2 separate regions of the Homo sapiens genome follow, and region 1 is linked to region 2. The links are contacts of gene promoters, found by promoter capture Hi-C in human tissues and cell types (Jung and others, 2019). All regions are on one chromosome and are shown on one strand. Each heading gives the region's core, a stretch centred on a gene start or on the middle of the fragment in contact. The rest is flanking DNA. Distances are from core to core; before and after follow the strand shown.

Evidence for each region. The method cuts DNA at HindIII sites, captures the fragments that hold promoters and counts their contacts. A contact is called where the count stands out against the background at its distance.
Region 1: a contact is called between a fragment that was not itself captured here and the fragment with the promoter of EXOC1 in region 2, in 1 of the 25 tissues and cell types used here (mesenchymal stem cells).

Annotation. Positions count from the first base shown.
Region 1 is chr4:55,574,662-55,577,797 of GRCh38, reverse strand. The region is part of intron 3 of PDCL2 (phosducin like 2); the gene reads left to right. Among named protein-coding and RNA genes, the nearest start is that of PDCL2, 16 kb to the left of the region's middle. The HindIII fragment of the contact is 9,457 bases long and covers 1-3,136 here.
Region 2 is chr4:55,851,727-55,855,074 of GRCh38, reverse strand. EXOC1 (exocyst complex component 1) reads right to left here and starts at 1,427. Exons shown (of 19, transcript NM_001024924.2): 1 at 1,122-1,427. RefSeq lists a silencer at 1,536-1,635. The HindIII fragment of the contact is 5,967 bases long and covers 1-3,020 here.

The DNA.
Region 1 (3,136 bases), core at 551-3,050, 280 kb after region 2:
ACTTTAAGACAACTATCTTACGGATGCTTAAAGAGCTAAAAAGATAGGAATATAATGTATGATCAAAAAGAGAATATCAATAAAGAAATAGAAGTTATAAACAGGAATAAAAGATATTCTGGAACTGTGATAATGAGAAATATATATCTGATCTTTGTCCCCAGTTCCTGACACAAACATACTTGGAATTTGCTAGGTGATAAAAGTACCTTTGGTATGCTTATGAGATGATCCTTGGTGGAGGGGATCCTAGTAGCTTTAGGATGAGGGCTGGTTGCCAGAGGAACCAACCATGTGATTAGAAGGTTAGAACTTTTAACACTATTCCCTGCTCTCTGGAGAGGGGAGAGGGGCTAGAGATTGAGTTAATCACCAGTGGCCAACGATTTAGTCAATCATGCCTATCTAATGAAACCTCCATAAAAACCACTAAATGATGGTGCTGTGGTCTGAATGTTTGTGTCCCCCCCAAATTCATATGTTGAAACCTAATCCCCTCCCAATGTGATGGCATTAAGAGGTGGAGCCTTAGGGAGGTAATTAGGTCATGAGGGCTACCCCTTTATGAACGGGATTAATGCTCTTATAAAAGAGGCCTGAGAAGGCCAGGCACAGTGGCCCATGCCTGTAATCCCAGCACTTTGGGAGACCAAGGCAGGCGGATCACCTGAGTCAGGAGTTCGAACCAGCCTGGCCAACATGGTGAAACCCTGTTTCTACTAAAATACAAAAATTAGTTGGGTGTAGTGGCCTGTACCTGTAATCCCACCTACTCGGGAGGCTGAGGCAGGAGAATTGCTTGAATCTGGGAGGCAGAGGTTGCAGTGAGCCGAGATTGTGCCACTGCACTCCAGCCTGGGCGACAGAGCAAGACTCCGTCTCAAAAAAAAAAAAGGACTGAGAAATCTGGAACATGCTTTTTTTAAAATTTGTTTTGCCAGTCTTTGCCTTTAGTTGGAGATTAATCATATTAATTTAAAATTCACTTACATTTAAAGTAAGTACTGTTAAGAAAGGAGTTGCTTCTGCTACTTAGGTGTTTTCTGTATTTCTTACATAATTTTTGTTTTTTAAGTCTTCCATTACTGCTTTCTTTTCACAGTTAGCTGATTTTTCTAGTGTACCATTTTTATTTCCTTCTTCTTTCATTTTCTGTGTATCTTTTAGTTTTTTCATAGTGATTATCTTAAGGATAAAAATTAACGTCTTACAGTGGCCTACTTTGAATAATACCAACTTAGAGTCAATAGCATGTAAACACATCTCCATCCTTCTCCTTATTTGTTAGTGTCACAGACTACATTGTTATATATTGTGCATCCATTAACATAGATTATTATTATTGCTTTATGTATTTACCTTTTATATCATACAGGAAAAAAAGAGAAGTTAGAAACCAACTCTAGGCCAGGCATGATGGCTTACGCCTGTAATCCCAGTGCTTTGGGAGGCAGAGGTGGGCAAATCGCCTGAGTTCAGGAGTTTGAGACCAGCCTGGCCAACATGGTGAAACCCCGTCTCTAATAAAAATACAAAAAATTTAGCTGGGCATGGTGGCACACCCCTGTAATCCCAGCTACTCAGGAGGCTAGGTGTGAGAATTGCTTGAACCTGGGAGGCAGAGGTTGCAGTAAGCTAAGATCGCGCCACGGCACTCCAGCCTAGGCAACAAAGCAAGACTGTCTCAAAAAGAAAAAAAAAAGAAACCAATTCCAATAATGGCTTTTACATTTTCCTATGTAAAAGCCAAATGGTAATACTGGCTATTATATTTCCCTATGTAGTTAACTTCACCATGTTCCTCGTTTCTTCATGTGGCTTTGGATACTATCTGGTGCTCTTTCATTTCAGCCTGAAGGACTCCTTTCACATATTTTTTAGGCAGGTCTAGGTCCCTTGGTGTTTTTTTGTTTTTATTTTTATTTTTTAAATCTAGGAATGCATTAATTTACCCTCATTCTTGAAGCATAGTTTTGCCAAATATCGAATTCTTGCTTTTGACAGTTGTTTTCTCTCAGCATTTAAAAAATATCAACTCACTGCCTTTTTGGCTTCCAAAATTTCTGCTGAGAAACTGGCTGATAGTCTTATTGAAGATCCCTTGTATGTGATGACTTGCTTCTCTCTGCTTTCAAGATTCTCATTGTCTCTTCTTGCCTTTCAGTAGTTTATGATGTATCCCCATGTGGGTGTCTTTGAGTTTATCATACTTTTATCATACTTGGAGTTTGTTGGACACTTGAGTTTATAGATTAATGTATTTCATCAAATTTGGGAAGTTTTCAGCCATTATTTCTTAAAATATCCTTTATGCTTCTTTTCTCTCTCTTTTCTGTTGAGATTCACACAACATGTGTGTTGGTCTGCTTTATATCATCCCACAGACCCTTTAGGCCCTGTTTATTTTTTTTTCATTCTTTTTTTTTTCTCAGATTTGATCATTGCAGTTGTCCTATTTTCAAGGTTGCTGATTCTTCTGCTTCCTCAAATCTGCTTTTGGAACTCTCCAATGTATTTTTTTAATTTTAGTTACTGTACTTTTTAGTTCCTCTGGTATGTTTTACTCATACCACTTCTGACATGAAATGTTGGGGCAGGGTCCCCCACAACCAATTCTCCAACTTTCTGGACACCAACTGGGTGTTCTACAATTCATTTCAATTCTGACACTAACTATTGGAGTTAGGGAAGACCCCACATTGGGAGACTACTTCAAACACACTAAGGTGGTTATAATAAATAAATTGGTGAGGATTGGAACCCTTTGAATTGCCACTGGGAATGTAAATGGTACAGCCACTTTGAAAAACAGTCTGGTGGATCCTCAAAAGGTTAAATATAAAGTTAGCATATGACCCAGCAATTCCACTTCTAGGTATATACCCAAGAAAATTCAAAACATGTATAGGAATGGCCATAGCAACATTATTCACAATAACCTCAAAATGGAAACAATCTAAATGTCATCAGTCTATACAGTGGAATACTATTCAGCCATAATTCAAATGAAATGAAGTACCAATATGTTCTACAACATGGATGAAAACATGCTAGGGGAAAGAAACCAGTACAAAAAGTCATAGAGACAGAACACAATTATTGGTTACCAGGGCCTAGGATAGGGGATAGGGAGTAA
Region 2 (3,348 bases), core at 178-2,677:
GTACTTTCCATGTAAGGAATATCATCTCCGCCCTATCCAAACCCTAATTACACTTCATGGTTTACATGAAGTTGATTCAATGAAGATCTTAATCCAAAGTGATCTCTCCTCTAAATTTCTACAGCACTTACTGCATTTGCCGTCTAATGGGCTCATTAAATCATAAGCTTCTCTATCTCAAGAATTCTCTTAAAGAAGGGAGGGATGTTCATCATAGTTTTGTGTTTAGTGGATACTTAAATATCTATTAAGGTAATTAGAACTGAATAGTAAAAACTGGTCAAATGAATAATAGGGACCAACGTTTACCACATACTCCTTCTCTGGCTAAAAGCAACTGAGTGTACAGTAAGAGGCAAAACAAGACAGGATTGGGCATACCTCATAAAGGAGTTAGCCATAATGAAAAGCAGTATGTGACTCTTCATTCATTCAGCAAATACTCATGCTTATTAGGTGGCAGACACTATTCTAGGTTACAGTAGTCAACATGACAGATATGTTTATGAAGACCTGAAGCCGGGTGTTTCTATGGCATTTACATCCTAAGAGTCGAGTGATTAACTCTTCAGTCTTTACGGTACTTTTCTGAAAGTCAGTAAATAAATCCCTAGAGGTCCTCTAAAATTATTCTCCAGGTCTGAGAACCCATATCTGACCACGTTCCAAAGGCAGCCATCCACTGCTTACTCTGTACTGGTTGTTTCCTTCAGCTCAGTTGGACCACCACACTGTGTGACAAATAGCCTGTCAGTGTGAGTGCCCGTGTGCATTGGGCCCTGTATGCTGCTGAGATATATTAATGCATGAAGCATTGCCATCTAGAAGATATAACTGTGCAAGGAAATAGAGAAATACACTTAAGAGATTTGGCGGGGGGTGGGGGGGAGTTGGGGTTGGGGGGCCGGGATGTGAATTTGGACAAAGAGGAAGGCACAGTCACGCTCTCCTCTCCTGGACCACGCCAAAGAGCTTACGATCAGGGTCATTTTGCACAAACAAAATCTGGTTCCGATGGGCGGAACCGTAATGGGGCCCGTGAGGACTGCCCTCCCAGCTCCGCATTCTCCTAGACCCGAGGACAAGGGACTGGAGAATGCTCTGACCAAACTTCGTCTTACCGGGACAAACGGGGAAAGGAAGGTCAGAAGGAGCGGTGCCCGACCCCAGGCGTGGAGACAGCAGCCGGACTGAGGAGCCGCCTTAGACCCTGGTGCCTGTCAGCTCGTCTGTCCGCCGCCGCCGGGACTACCGGGCAGCCGCGGCCGAAGGCTTACCGCAAGGCCGGACTGAGCCTGGCTGTGCCGAGGCGGGTCTTCCAAAACGGAGACCGGATGGGGGCCACTAGGATACGCCCCTCAATAAAGCGTTGAACGGGAAGCGGCCGTTCCCCCAACACTTCCTATATCCGGGCACGTGACAAACTCCGCGCCGGAAGTTGACCGCGTAGAGAAGGAAGAAGCAGCGATGGGAGAAAAAGGGAGCGGCCAATAGACGCGGAGGGGCGGGGCGCCAACCGACGGGCGTGGCCAGGCGGAACAAGGCCTCATTGGAGGGGCGTGTCAGGGAAGGGCAGGGGCGGGGCCTTTGTGGCACAGAAACTGACTTGGGAGTTGGGGATTAAGAGTTATTTATTCAGATATTTGCAGCAATTCATTTAAGAAGAAATTCGATTAAATGTTTTCTTTTTTCATACGTAAAGCTCTATTAACTCTAGATCTTTGCTACTTAAACTTTGGAGAGCTTAAATGAGTTAAATCAGAATCCCTGCGGGTGGGACCCAGACATCAGTACTTTTAATATCTTCCCAGATGATTCTCATATGCAGCTAAGGTCAAGAACCATTGTCCTCATGACCTTGATACTCAAAGTGTGGTCCGTGGATCAGCTGCTTGGGTATCATCTGGGGGCTTTTTAGGAAATGCAGCCTCTCTGGCTCACTTCAGATCTACTGAATCAGAATCTGCATCTTAGCAAGATGATGCTTATGCATATTTAAGTTTGGGATGCATAAATGATGCCAATGTTGCTGGTTGCAGGTAGGTGTTTTATTTATTCAATATTCCTGGCACCTTTTTTTTTTAATGCTAGGCACTTTGATTCCAGGTACAGAGGTGATTCAGGCATGAATCTTAACCTAAAGGAGTTCACAGTGTGGTAGGACTAGACAAGGTGTAGGTACAAATATATATAAAATAGGACACAAAATAAGTGACCAAAGAGAGGTACAGATCAGATAAATGTGCTAGAAATTTAAATGAGCAAACAGTAGTTAGAATACTTTTCACTTTCATCAAATGACTTCCCTTTTAAGAGCAGGATCTGGTTATATCTTTACAAAGACCCTTTCCTGCTTGGCACCGGAATGCTTACTGTGGACACTCTATGACAATTGCATGTGTTTTTTGGTCCTATTATCTTTCTTTTATTTACCTGTATGTTTATAGCCCTCCTCAAAGTTGGGAAATGAATTGCATTTCAGAAGCCTAGATCTCTTTCTTGAACCTCAAGATTTGTGTATATACTGCCCATCGCCTGACATTTCCACTTGGATGTCTTATAGACACCTCAAACTTGTGTGTCCAAAAATTAAATTATCCTCTCTCCTCTTGGATTCCCTGCAAAGTGACACTTATATGCAATAGTTTATTTGGAAATTTGATCCCAGGGAGCAAAATGAGGGAAGAGGAAGAAGACAAAACAAAAAGGGAGATGCAGTATAAGAATGTGTTACTGAGTTGGTCATCACCATATTTGAATGTTTTCTTAGTCCCTTAGGACCTTCTAAGAAGCTTTATGAAATGAGTCTCAGAACTGTCCATTAAAGGAAAGAACGGAGGAAGCATTTGTATGTCGGCTCCTGTCCTCTTTGATCGAAGGTTAATGCCCTTGGGCATTAACTACTTCACACTTACAAATCGCACAGTTGTGAATGCCAAGCTGACTCCCACATCAGAGACATGCTGGGGCAGGAAGTGAGAGGAGAGGTGCTGGTATTTCGCACTTGTTCAAAGGTCATCAAACCTGCTCCGAGCAGGTTGCTGCAGCAGTGGTTAGAATAATAGGCTGAAGGGATTTGAAGTCATGGCCTAAGTTGCACAGAAGGACATAGAAGGTGTCCATATCTTGCAGCACTCTGATCTGCCTGTGTGCTCTGTTATGTTCAGTCCTTCACAGAGGTCTCTTCAAGGTGATGGCCAGCCACAATCTCAGCAAAGCCTTAATATAAGAGAGTTAATAGAATAAGCTTCAGTTTTTACTGCTGCATCAATGTCAGGACCATACTTGTATTAACTCCCTCTTCCACTACCCATTCTAATTTTCCCTCACCATTGACCAGCACATCAG